Linked DNA regions of Homo sapiens: region 1 is linked to region 2. The links are contacts of gene promoters, found by promoter capture Hi-C in blood cells and fetal thymus (Javierre and others, 2016). All regions are on one chromosome and are shown on one strand. Each heading gives the region's core, a stretch centred on a gene start or on the middle of the fragment in contact. The rest is flanking DNA. Distances are from core to core; before and after follow the strand shown.

What was found. The method cuts DNA at HindIII sites, captures the fragments that hold promoters and counts their contacts. A CHiCAGO score of 5 or more calls a contact.
Region 1: a fragment that was not itself captured here is called in contact with the fragment with the promoter of NBAS in region 2 in 2 of 17 cell types (endothelial precursors and M2 macrophages); the score reaches 8.0 in endothelial precursors.

What each region holds. Positions count from the first base shown.
Region 1 is chr2:13,036,951-13,043,948 of GRCh38, reverse strand. The region is part of intron 1 of LOC105373436 (a long non-coding RNA gene); the gene reads right to left. Among named protein-coding and RNA genes, the nearest start is that of MIR3125, 300 kb to the right of the region's middle. The HindIII fragment of the contact is 188 bases long and covers 4,217-4,404 here.
Region 2 is chr2:15,558,649-15,565,540 of GRCh38, reverse strand. It overlaps NBAS (NBAS subunit of NRZ tethering complex), which reads left to right and starts at 4,207. Exons shown (of 52, transcript NM_015909.4): 1 at 4,207-4,353. The coding sequence starts at 4,237. It overlaps LOC105373440 (a long non-coding RNA gene), which reads right to left and starts at 3,393. Exons shown (of 4, transcript XR_001739297.2): 1 at 3,358-3,393; 2 at 1,267-1,439; 3 at 343-476. RefSeq lists an enhancer at 4,008-4,417. The HindIII fragment of the contact is 4,253 bases long and covers 4,181-6,892 here.

The DNA.
Region 1 (6,998 bases), core at 3,061-5,560, 2.5 Mb after region 2:
TCATAGAATGTGTTAGGGAGGAGTCCCTCCTTTTCAATTGATTGGAATATTTTCAGAAGAAAGAGTATCAGCTCCTCTTTGTACTTCTGATAGAATTCAGCTGTAAATCTATCTGGTCCTCGGCTTTTTTTTTTTTTTTTTTTTTTTTTGGTTGGTAGGCTATTTATGACTGCCTCAATCTCAAAACTTTTTATTGGTCTATTCAGGGATTCCACTTCTTCCCGGATAAGTCATGGGAGGGTGTATGTGTCTGGGAATTTATCCACTTCTAGATTTTCTAGTTTACTTGCATAGAGATGTTTATAGTATTCTCTGATGGTTGTTTGTATTTCTGTGGGGTCAGCGGTAATATTTCTTTTATCATTTTTCATTGTGTCTATTTGATTCTGCTCTCTTTTATTCTTTATTAGTCTAGCTAGTGGTCTATTTATTTTATTAATTTTTTCAACAAACCAGCTCCTGAATTTATTGTTTTTTGAAGGAGTTTTTGTGTCTCTATTTCTTTCAGTTCTTCTCTGAGCTTGGTTTTCTCATGTCTTCTGCTAGCTTTGGTGTTTGATTGATCTTGGTTCTCTAGTTCTTTTAGTTGTGATGTTAGGGCATCAGTTTGAGATATTTCTAGCTTTTTGATGTGAGCATTTAGTGCTATAAATTTTCCTCTTAACACTGCTTAGCTGTGTCCCAGAGATTTTGGTGCATTGCTCTTTGTTCTCATTGGTTTCAAAGAACTCCTTGATTTCTGCCTTAATTTCATTATTTACCCAGGAATCATTCAGGAACGGGTTGTTCAATTTTCATATAGTTTTGTGGTTTTGAGTAAGTTTCTTAATTTTGAGTTCTAATTTAATTGCACTGTGGCTTGAGAGACTGTTATGTTTTCAGTTCTTTTGCATTTGCTGATGAGTGATTTACTTCCAAATATATAATTGATTTTAGAGCAAGTGCCATGTGGTCCTGAGAAGAATGTATATTCTGTTGTTTTGGGGTGGAGAGTTCTGTAGATATCTATCATGTCTGCTTGATCCAAAGGTGTGTTCAAATCCTGAATATCTTTAATTTTCTGTCTCGCTGATCTATCTAATAATGACATTGGATTGTTAAAGTCTCCCACTATTATTGTGTGGGAGTCTAAGTCTTTTTGTACATCTAACAATTTGTTTTATGAATCTCAGTGCTCCTGTATTGGGTGTATACATATTTAGGATAGTTAGTTCTTCTTGTTGAATTGACCAGTTTACCATTATGTAATGCTTTTCTTTGTCTTTTTTTTTTTTTTATCGTAGTTGGCTTAAAGTCTGTTTTGTTGGAAACTGGGATTGCAAACCCTGCCTTTTCTGTTTTCCATTTCCTTGGTAAATTTTCCTCCATCCTTTTATTTTGAGTCTATGTGTGGTCTTTGCATGTGAAATGGGTCTCTTGAATAAAGGCTACTGATGGATCTTGACTCTTAATCAAGCTTGCTATTCTGTGTCTTTTAATTGGGGCATTTAGATAATTTACATTTGAGGGTAATACTGTTTATATGTGAATTTGATCTTGTCATTATGATGTTAGCTGATTATTTTGCAGACTTGTTTATGTAGTTGCCTCATAGTGTCATTGGCCTGTGTACTTCAGTGTATTTTTGTAGTGGCTGGTAATGGTTTTTCCTTTTCATATGTAGTGCTTCCTTCAGGAGATCTTGCAAGGCAGGCCTAGGGGTGATGAATTCCCTCACCATTTGCTTGTCTAAAAAAGATTTTATTTCGGGCTCAGCACAGTGGCTCATGCCTGTAATCCCAGCACTTTGGAAGGCCGAGGTGGGTGTCACCTGAGGTCAGGAGTTCGAGACCAACCTGGCCAACATGGTGAAACCTTGTCTCTACTAGAAATACAAAAATTAGCTGAGCATAGTGGTGAGCACCTGTAATCCCAGCTACTTGGGAGGCTGAGGCAGGAGAATCACTTGAACCTGGGAGGCAGAGGTTGCAGTGAGCCGAGATCATGCCATTGCACTCCAGCCTGGTCAACAAGAGAGAAACTCCATCTCAGAAAAAAAAAAAAAAAAAAAAAAAAGATTATTTTCTCCTTTGCTTATGAAGCTTAGTTTGGCTGGATATAAAATTCTAAGTTGGAAATTCTTTTTTAAAGAATGTTGAATATTGGACCCCAATCTCTTCTGGCTTGTAGGATTTCCACTGAGAGGTTTGCTGTTAGTCTGATGGACTTCCATTTATATGTGACCCGGTCTTTGTCTCTGGATGCCCTTAACATTTTTTCCTTCATTTTGATCTTGAAGAATCTGATGATTATGTGTTTTGGGGTTGATCGTCTCATGGAGTATCTTACTGGGGTTCTCTGAATTTCCTGAATTTGAATGTTGCCCTATCTTACCAGGTTGAGGAAGTTTTCCTGGATAATGTCCTGAAGTGTGTTTTCCAACTTGGTCCTATTCTCCCTGTCTCTTTCAGGTACCCCTATCAGCTGTAAGTTCAGTCTTTTAATGCAATGCCATAGTTCTTGGAGGTTTTATGCATTCCTTATCATTATTTTTTCTCTAATCTTGTCTGCCTACCTTATTTCAGCAAGATAGTCTTCAAGCTCTGATATCCCTTCTTCAGTTTGGTCTATTCGGCTATTGATATTTGTGTTTGCATTGTGAAGTTCTCACGTTGTGTTTTTCAGCTCCTTCAGGTTATCTATGTTCCTCTCTCAACTGGTTATTCTGGTTAACAACTCCTCTGATGTTTTATCATGGTTCTTAGCTTCTTTGCAATAAGTTAGAACGTACTCCTTTAGCTAAGTGAAGTACATTATTACCCATCTTATGAAGCCTACTTTTGTCAGTTCAACCATCTCAACCTCAGCCCAGTTCTGTGCCATTGAGGGAGATGTGTTGTGATCATTTGGAGAATAGGCACTCTGCCTTTTAGAGTTTTCAGCACTTTTACACTGATTCTTTCTCATCTTCTTGGGTTCATCTACCTTTGATCTTTGAGGCTGCTGACCTTTGGATGGAGTTTTTGTGGGGTCTTTTTCATTGATGTTGTTGTTGTTGTTGTTGCTTTCTCTTTGTTTTTCTTTTAGCGGTCAATGCCCTTTTCCATAGGGCTGCTGCAGTTTGCTGAGGGTCCACTCCAGACCCTGTTTTCCTGCGTCCCTCCTGCTCCTGAAAATATAACTAATAGAGGCTGCAGAACAGCAAAGATGGCAGCCTGCTCCTTCTTCTGGGAGCTCTGTCCCGGAGGGGCACAGACTTGATGCCAGCTGGAACGCTCCTGTATGAGGTGTCTGGAGACTCCTGTTGGGAGGTCTCACCCAGTCAGGAGGACAGGGATCAGGGACCTGCTTAAATAAGCAATCTGACTGCCCCTAGTTGGAGCAGGTGTGCTGCGCCATTGCCTGGGCTGCCCTGACTCTCCAGAGCCAGTAAGCAGGCAGATAAGACTAAGATTCATGATACTGCAGCTGCACCTCCTCCTAGGGGCTCCTCTCAGGGATATCAGAGTTTTGTTCATAAATGCCTGCCTGGGGATGCTGAATTTCCTGCAGGGAGGTCCCACCCAGTGAGGGGGAGTGGATCAGGGTCCTGCTTAAGGAAACAGTCCAGCCACGAACTGCCCCAGCCGCTGTGCTGCACTGTGGGGAATTGCTCCCAGTACAAACCGCGCTGGCGCTGGCGGCAGGGGAAAACAGCCGACTAGAGGCGCAGTGATGGTGGCTGTCCCTGCCCCCTGGGAAACTCGGGGTCTCAGTGCCTGCTCCAGCCGCCGCCTACCTGAGCAGCCGCCAAGAGTCTGCACTGCTCTATGCTTGGGAGCCAAGAATCCTGGTTGGTGTGGGCTCACAAGGGGACCGCCTGATTTGCAGGTTGCAAATCAGGAGGGATCTCCTCCAGCCAGATCTGTGGGAAAAGTGGGGTTTTCAGGGAGAAGGAGCAAAATCCCTCACCGCCTCCCTTGGCTGGAAGAAGGAGCTCCCTTTGCCTCGTGCAGCTCCCAGGTGAGCCCTTGCTCCACCCTCCTTTTCCTCGCTCTCCGTGGGTCGCCATAACCACTTGGTTCTCATGAGCGATCCTTGGTACCTCAACTGAAGATGCAGAATTCACTCACTGTTTTTATCCTTTTTGGTGGGAGCTGCAGAGCAAAGCCATTTCTATTCGGCCGTCTTGGCTGCTCCAACAATTTCTTTAAAATAGCATCCAAGAGAATAAGTTTAACAAAGGAAGTGCAAAGCTTATACTCTGAAAACTAAAAATATTGTTTGAAGTCATTAAAGGAAAACTAAATAAACGGAAATATATCCTATATTCATGGATGAGATGACTTAATAATTTTAAGACAGCAATACTCCTCAAATTCATCTATATGCTCAATGTAATTCCTATCAAAATCTTAGCTGAACTTTTGCAGAAATTGACAAGCTTATTCTAAAATTCATATATAAATTCAAGTGACCAAGAGTAGCCAAAACAATGTTGAAACAGAAGGACAAAGTAGGAGGATTCCACTTTGCTATTTCAAAACGTACCAAAAAGCTACAATAATAAAGACAGTGTAGCAGTGGCATCAGGATCAATATGCAGATCAACGGCAAAGCACTGAGGGTCCATAATTCACCCTTCCCATTTACAATCAATGGATTTTTGACAGCATATTCCACAGGGAAACAAGGAGAAAGTAGTATTTCCAGCACATGGTGCTGGGATAACTGGGTATCCACATACAAAAGAATGAAGTTGATACCTACTTCATACAACATGTAAAAACTAACTTAAAATGCATTAAAGAATTTAATAGAAGAGATAAAACTATAAACTCTCAGAAGAAAACATTGGGATATTTGTGACCTTGGATTAAGCAGTGGTTTCTTAGATGAAACATTTAAACGTTTATCCAAATTCCGAAGTAAGGAAACTGGTTACAGAGAACCATGTATTGTAGGATTCTGCTAATAGGAAACATCCAGAATAGGCAAATCTATAGATGCAAAGTATATTAGTAATTGAGGGAACACATCAAATTTTTAAAAATCCACTTAGGGCCTCGGCAGTTTAGTCGTGATAGAATTCTTATAGCTTGAGAACTGATAGAACCTGAGTAAATAATCAGATTTGTAAGAGGCACCAGTGGAAGTGAATAGCATAGTAACAGCCAGATCATTGCAGGCTGCTAGAGCTTCACCACTAGGATCAGAGGCACTGGCATCCCACAAAATCTGGTGAACTAGCAGCTGGATTTGACCTGAGACTAAATAATGAATTTTTCTGGTAAAAGACGATCTGGCAACTGGGTCCTATTGCAAGACTTTATCAGAGTCTGCATTTTTGACAAGTGGCAACAAAGAAACAATAAGAATGTCTGACGTATGGACAAGTATAGGCAAACTTAGGGATTCTCAGAAATATTGAGGGCATTGCGCTTTGGGAAAGAGACTAGAGTTTCTGTTAATTTGGCAAGATAGAACTAGTATCATTAGAGTATTAAAGAAAATGTGATATTGATACACACTGGCAGGGTCAGGAACATGGTGGTAACATATTATTTATAGTCTTCATATTAATCCTTCAATGTATATTATGTGCCTTTTACAATTTAAGAACGAGACTCATAGAGGTTAATACATTGCCCAAAGTAGTAGGCTAGTAAGTGAAGGTGTATGCATTTAAACTCATACTTATGAAGACAAAGTCTATTATCTTTTGACTGGACTAAGGAGTCCAGGCTGTTCTATAGGATCATTAATGTTTATGGATATTGAGGTCCTTGAAAAATCATTACAATCCTATGCCTTGGGCAAAATTTCAAAAGTTCTTCCTGTTACACATATCAGCAATACCCCAAGCATTCTTTAAAAATAGATGGTTCAAAATAACTATTTTATTAGACTCATTTATTACTGTAAAGTTCTTTTAATTTAGAATTCAATTATTCCAATGTGAGACCCAATTATTCATATTCAGTCTCCCTCAGAGTATGGGAATAAATACATACATTATTTGGTGTTTCATATTTAGAAGGATTGCAAGTGTTGCTCTGAAATAACTAAAGTGAATATTGGCTGAATTTCCTTGTGACACAAATAAGAAAATTTCCTTCCTGTTCACACATGACCACATTTGCATAATGCATAGACGTCAAATATCCATTAAGCAAAAATACATAAGACATGTTTTGGTAACATTTAATACAAATGCTACTTCTTAAATGAAACTTTTTAGCCCTTTCAGAATTCTGTGTTAGCCCTTTGAGAATTCAGTGGTTTTCTTGTCTTCTTCTTATTTCTTCAACATTTCCCGATTATCATTGTCCTCACTCCAAAGAGAAGGATAACTTGGAAATGCTCTGAAATCTGGAGCTGCGGTTTTGCTACGCTCTGTGACCTCCGCATTCCAAAGCCAGCACAGTTAATAGTTCAGAAAATGTTATAGAATTGGTTTACTTAGGTTGAGTTTAAATAATTTATTTTTTATTTTATTTCATTATTATTATTATTTATATATTTTTTGAGATGGAGTCTTGCTCTGTTGCCCTGGCTGGAGTGCAATGGTGCAATCTTGGCTCACTGAAACCTCTGCCTCCCGAGTTCAAGTGATTCTCCTGCCTCTACCTCCCCGGGTAGCTGGGATTACAGGCATGTGCCACCACGCCTGGCTAATTACGTGTTTTTAGTAGAGATGGGGTTTCTCCATGTTGGTCAGTCTGGTCTCGAACTCCCAACCTCAAGTGATCCGCCCATCTTGGCCTCCCAAAGTGCCGGAATTACAGGCATGAGCCACCATACCCGGCCTAAATAATTTATTTTTTTAAAAAATGCTTTCAATATTAGGCATATTTTGATTCCTGTTTACACTGGGTAGAATTTGATAGAATTCTTATGATCGCCGACTAAAACAAAGACGAACAAGTCAGCAGCCTGTGAACTTGGAAAACTGTGAACCCTGTTTTTCTACTCTCAGCTCTAACATAATGAACGCTTCTTGAAGAACAGACTCACTGTTAGTGCTGGGGGTGTTTATT
Region 2 (6,892 bases), core at 2,958-5,457:
GGTAAATCTTTAGCTGGGTGTGGTGACACGTGCATGTAGTCCCAGCTATTTGGGAGGCTGAGACAAGAGGATCGCTTGCATCCAGGAGGTTGAGGCTACAGTGAGCTGTGTTTGCGCCACTGCACTCCAGCCTGGGTGACACAGCAAGAGCCTGTCTTAAATAAATACGTACATAAATAAATAAGGTAAAATCCTTATTCCAACCCGTGTCTGATATTCTATATTTTAAGGTAAAATAAATAATGCAAACTCCACTGGTAGAAACACCAAGAGAGGGGTGGTTTCAATGCCTAGAAACTCAAACTAGTTGAAGCATAAAAGAGAATGAACTAGATCACTTACCTGGGAAGATGGAATCATACAGGTGTCTCTTGTTTCAAGCATGCTTGTATCAGATGAAGTCTCTACCTCTTTCTCTTCTCAGTTTTTTTCAATGTATTGGTTTCATTCTTTCACTATATAGACAGGCTTTCTCTCTGGAATGAATAAGATGGATGCTAATAACCCCAATATTCTTCAAACTCTGTGACCCAAAAAGGCAAGGAGCCTTTTCCTCCATTTCCACTTAAAAAAAAAAAAAAATCCCAGGGAAGGATTCTCAACCTGATGCTCAAAGTAGCAGGAATGGAGTTCTTTGGGTCAAGGGGGCAGAGTTTGGGGATTGGCGGCCCCACTAGGAATTATCTGACTGAGTGAATGAAGAGCAGCTAGAACAGTCTCCGAAGGAAGCAAAGGGCCTGGGCAGACAAAAATGACCAGTGTCACTACAAGCACGAGGGAAGAAAGAAGAGAATAATGACGAACAGAAGAGTCTTGCTATCCTTGTGAAACGCTCACCACCTCTTCATTAAATTACCCACTCTGCTGTTTAGGATTAGTGTGACAATCATCTCAGTTTGCCCATGACAGCCCTGTTTCATGCTTGTTGTCCTAGCATAACTATTAAAATCATGGCTTTTTCTTTTCAAAAATATCCCAGTTTGGATACTTTGCTATATAGTCACTGTAAATAAGACCAAGTAGCAATTTGGCTTCAGCCACTCAATCTGTTTTAAGTCATCCTATTCCTTTGATTCAGTTGAACTTGATCAGATCTTTGTCTTTTCTTTTCCAACCCGTGTCTGATATTCAACATTTGGAGTTCTTCTTGTGGCATACATATTCTTACCATCTTCTTCCCTTTTATTGGTCACCTCACATTTCTCCCCTTCCAGGAACTCTTCTGGATTTTAACTAGTGGTGCTGAAGGTTTAAGAACCCACTTACCTGCTCAGAGCATCTCTGCTAGTAGAATTTTTCTTCCAGGGATTGCTTCAAGTTAAATGTATACTCCCTCTCCAAATAGCATAGATTCATCCTGTGACACTTCGGTTGTTGTTTCTTCAGAGTAGAAGCTCTCTGCCAGGCATGAGTTTATGTTTTCTGTCCTTTTGTACATGCTATGGTAAGTGGGGTATGGATGAGGATGGATAAAACAATTAACATGGTGTGAGGCTGGGCATGGTGGTGCGTGCCTGTAATCCCTGCACTGTGGGAGGCCGAGGCAGATCACTTGAGCCCAGAAGTCCAAGACCCCCCATCTCTACAAAAAATAATAAAGTTAGCCCAGCATGGTGGCATGCACCTGTGGTCCCAGCAACTCAGGAGGCTGAGGTGGGAGGATTGCTTGAGCCCAGGAAGTAGAGATTTCAGTTAGCTCTCTTTGTGCCACTGCACTCTGGCCTCAGTGAAAGAGTGAGACCCTGTTTCAAAAACAAAAACAAACAAACAAAAATAGTGTGATGATGGTAAAATAAATAAATTCTTCATGGTGTATTTGCAGTGGTCCCCTTTGCACACCAGCTAAGAAGGAAGCATCCTTTGCCAGTTTGACCAGCTATCTCCTGGCCGTGGTTGTACAGATTGAGTGAAAGTGGTGAAGAGAGTGATGAAACAGAAAGCAACCCCAATATCTATCTGAGAAAGGATGAGACAGAGGAATAAAGAGCCAAGGAAACTTGGTGTGGAGAAATAGGTGGGGTTGTACTGAGGTACTGGAGGACTCCAGTAACCAGCCCTCACACCGCATTCCATGTGCATGGTGTTCCTGCCTCTTCATGTTCTACCGCATGCAATGTGGGCGGGGCTCCCCGGAGGTATACAGTTTGTCAGCCTTGTGCGGTAGGGAGAAGACACGTCTGGTGTTCACAATGAGGGGTTTGATTGAAGGGCACAGCTGCTATGCAGAGAAATACTATGGGGAGACAATGTGTAAAAGATTTTCTGGGAAGTCTGTCATTTATTCAACAAATAATATATATTTTGTCCTCTGCTCTATGCCAGGCACTGTTATAAATTCTGGGGATATAGCAGGGATGGATATAGCATTTGCATGCATATAGATAGAGCACCTGGCATGGCTTACCTTTTAGTGAATGGAGACAGATAATAAGCAAATATACTGTATAGCCATTTAAGTGATGACAAGTGTAATGGAAAAAATAATAGAGCAGCTCTGGAAAGCTGGAGTTGGAGAATGGTCATTGCAAATTTAAAAATGAGCAGTCAAGGTAGGCTTCAGAGAGAGACGACATTTGAGCAAAAACTTGAAGGAGATAAGGGAGGAACCAGGTAAACATCTGGTAGAAAGCCTTCCAAGTGGAGGGGACAGGCTTTGCAGAACTCCTGAAGTTGATGTGTGTCTGGTGTGTTCAGAAATAGAGCCAGTGTGGCTGAAGGTAGTAGGGGGAGCAGGAAATGAGGTGTGAGATTTAGGGGAGCAGGCAGATGACGTAGGGCTTTGAGGTCATTAAACTTTGAGAGAAATGGGAGCTGGTTAGAGGCTTCCCAGCAGAGGCTTTTAATTGCATCACCGCCTAATGCATCTTGATGGATATCATGAATATAATTATCTCAAGGGATATTCAGTATTTGTGTTTCTTTTGATGTGAAACAGTGTAATACTTTGTACAGTATATATTCATTCATGTTACAGTAGGCTCTGCTTATAACTGTCCACAAAGAGGTATTTGTTGAATGAATGAATGAATGAACAAATGGGGTTGACCTTTTCGCTCCCTCCATGCGGGTTCTCAACCTATTATTTCAACTTTATTGCCCCTACACCCTTTCTCAACTTGGGTTCTATTCACCCGTCTTGTTGAGTACTAATTAGGAAAAAAAAAAAGGCAGGCTAGTGGGAGCAGGGAAAAACAAAGAGATAAGGCAAATTAGCTATACGTCTGTCTTTCTTCATGGTCCAAAACATATAAACAAAAGGAAGAAACAAATAAGCCATAGGTCTACTTTTCTTTATGGCCCAGGACATATGGCCCTTCTACCCAGATAACGTACTTAACTCACAAACTTCCTGCTTACCTTCAAATGCCTCAATTTCTGAAACACTTCAGCTGACAAAAAAAAAAAAAAAAAAAGAAAGAAAGAAAAAAAAAAAGCAAGTTAACTCCCTGCTACCTGGTGTTATCAATCACTCCAAGTTCCAGTCTATAAAATTCTCAACAAGCCTTTGTTTCCTAGCAATGAGCTCCTCCTCTGCTGAGTCGGCCCGCTGCTCCCTGGCAACGAACTTTCATACTTTCTTTAATCTGTCTTTCTTTATCTACCACTGTCTTGGTAAATTCTTTTACTCCCACACTGAGAAAGTCGTCACTCACTGGCGACACGTTGAAAGAGTTCTTTCAACTCTGTATTTCTGCCTCTGTCTCTGCTCATTCCATTTCCCGCTACTTGAAATGCTTCTCCAGTAGATTAAAATTCTGCCTATTGTTAAAGACGCAGGGACAAGCTCCACGTCCTCCAGGAAATCCCTGCAGACTCTGGCCTTCGTTGCCTTTTCTGAGCTCCTGTAGCATCCTTCCTCTGCTACCTTTCATTGGATAACTTTAGTTGTTTATTTTAAAACCACTGTTTGAACTCTCTCTACGTGTTAGGCAAAGAATATACAAATGAACATTAGCATTTCAGTGGGGTACCTTTACCATTTCTGTTTTATGGAAACTGAGTTATAAGAGAGGCTCAATGACTTGGCCGATCTCATGTAGATTAATGAACAAGGAGTGTATCAGGACCGGGACACAAGTCGTTCCCAAGACAAGCAATAGTCCCTGTCCTTCCTACTCATAAAAGGGTTAACCTAGCATTTCCTTGCCGTGAAACAAAAGCGGCCGCGGATAGAGAAGCTTGTCCTGTGAGGGATTCCGTAGAGACACTCCTCCGCTGCCTGAGTCCTCGGCGAACATGGCGGCCCCCGAGTCAGGGCCGGCTTTGAGTCCAGGCACTGCAGAGGGTGAGGAGGAGACGATTCTCTATGACTTGTTGGTCAACACCGAGTGGCCACCGGAGACTGAAGTACAGGTGAACCAGGCCCATCTACAGCAGCAGCCAGCTTGGCGCGGGCGCTTCGTGGGTAGAGCCACGTAGCAGGAGCCACGTAGGGGAGTGGAGACGGGTGGGTGGGGGACTAGGGCCGGTTGGCTTGTGCGGTCGCCTTGGCAACGGCACCTTGGGCTAGCGGGGGTCTAGGGCGGGGTGGGGTGGTGGTCCCTGAGATTCTTCCTGGGCTCAGAATTCGGTTGTTGGGGGCTGGAACTTCGTGCTCTGGGGAGCGTACGATCCCACTTTGGTTCTCAGTTTCGCTCTCTGTATTGGGAGGAGAGGGGATTGTTAGTGTCGCTCTCTGTATTAGGAGGGGAAGGCACAGCGCTGGACTCGAGGGTCCTTTCTCCTATCTGGACCCTCAGTGGTCCCTTCTCGCGGTCTGGCTAGGGCTAGTCTGGGCCGACGCTCAACTGCGATGGGAGAATTTTCCAGGACCTTACAGTCTGCAGCATCTGCCAGGCTGGTGCAGAGCGCAGAATCTGAGCCTTTACCCATACTGGGGGCTGGATCGCGCCAGGTCTTGTGTGTTTCAATAAAAGAGCATTTAATAAGGGTGTGCGTGTCCGTTCGTCTGTCTCGGTGTCACAGGTGCTGTGCTAGGTGCTAAGGATACAGAGATGAATATGTTTTCGTGGAGCTTCTCGTCTAGAGGGGAGACAGTCCCGTAAACGTTTTTCATAACCTAGCGTTTTATGCGCTATAGTTAGCGATGTGAGCAAAATGCCACGGAAGTGCAGAGTAAAGAGCTGCTGACTGGGATTGGGATCTCCGCTACAGAAGGGTTATAGAGGTTGATAATTTATGGACTGGATCTTGGGATTATCAGTTGTTTGGTAGTGAAGGCCTCCCGGGTCTGTGATGAAGAGTAGGAACCATGGATCCATGTTTATTTTATTTTATTTTTTATTATTATTATTTTTTGGATCCATGTTTATTTAACAGATATTTATTGAGTGCTTAACACGTGCCAGTTACTGTTTTAGACCCAGAGGAAGCAGCCAGATCGAAAAGAACCTTTATTAAAGATTATGTAGTCCAGCCCATGTGAGTTATCTTACATTTTTTCTGAGTGTTTCTTTGCTGGAGAAACGACTCATTTTTCAGCCCAAAGTTTGTATTTTTTTCCTCTGTAGCCTCCTTCCCACTGCAGTTTGTGCTTATCATGAATAATTTATTTTGTAGACGGGTAGAGATCTGCATATATTACTGTTTAATTTCAAGTACTTAGTTTGTCTTAATGTGAATATTTTTTGGGTTATGCAGCTAGGAAGCTGTTGCTGAGGCAGCTGGTTAGATAAGTTTCCACTCCTTAACACTCATTGGTTAATTGCAGTAATGTTTCAGAATGCTTACCATAAATTGATTCCAAAAAAGTAACCACAGAATTAACTTACTTTGAAACCCTTAGCACTTTGTTTTGTGTTTGTGTGTTGGGGGTGGGGGAGTTCAATTGATTTCTGCATTCTATCGATTTCTGCATTCTGTTGATTTCAGCTGTTGAATTATAAGCTCTTGGAGGGCAGACATCTGATTCATCTTTATATCTCTTCCCAGGGCCAAATTGTGTCTTGCATGAATCCAACAATCAATTCATGTTTATTGAGTGAAATAACTTTTCTGTGTTTTTTAAAAAAATCTGTCTACACTTACTGTATGTCCATTGTGCTTTTCTTGACAGCACTTTAGTGCATCTTATGCAGTGCCTAGCGTCATGAACCTACCCACGGTGTGTTCAGTCTATACTTATGGAATGGAATTATTTAATATAGCAATTACGTATCTGTGTATGTTTTGTTAGTAGCATTGTCTGTATAGATACACAACAGATAGTCAATGAATTGGCCTTGGAGATATGACCACTTTTCCTGTGAGCAAAACTTACAGCCTCAATAGAGTATGCTGAACTGGCAACCAGTATGGTCTTTGGCCTTGACTTCTCTTGTCTTTGGATTGGTTTTTGATTTGGAAACAGTTTCCAGCTTCAATCCTTGTTCTTTCCTGCAAGGTTAGTCCTGACATGTGCCTGTAGCTCTGCTATGCTCACTTTTCTCCTATTGTCCCGCGTCCTGTGTCTACTTTTTTTTTTTTTTTTTTTTTTTTTGAGGCAGGGTCTCACTCTGTCACCCAGGCTGGAGTGCAGTGGCATGATCAGGGCTCACTGTAGCTTCGTAGCTTCAACCTCCTGGGTCACCTCAGCTTCCCAAGTAGCTGGGACTATAGGCATGCACCGCCATGCCTGGCCAATTTTTGTATTTTTTGTAGAGATGAGGTTTTGCCACGTTGCTCAGGCAGGTCTGGAGCTCCTGGGCTCAAGCAGTCAGCCCACCTTGGCATCCCAAAGTGCTGAGATTACAGGCGTGAGCCACTGCACCTGAACATCCAGTCTTTAAGTAGTTTTAAGACACTGCTTCCCTGTGCCCAAAACTCTGAGTATTAGTAAATAAAAATAAGTTTACATATTGTATAAGTAATACTGGTCTAATACTACTAGAAGATTCAAATGTAAGTGTTTTTT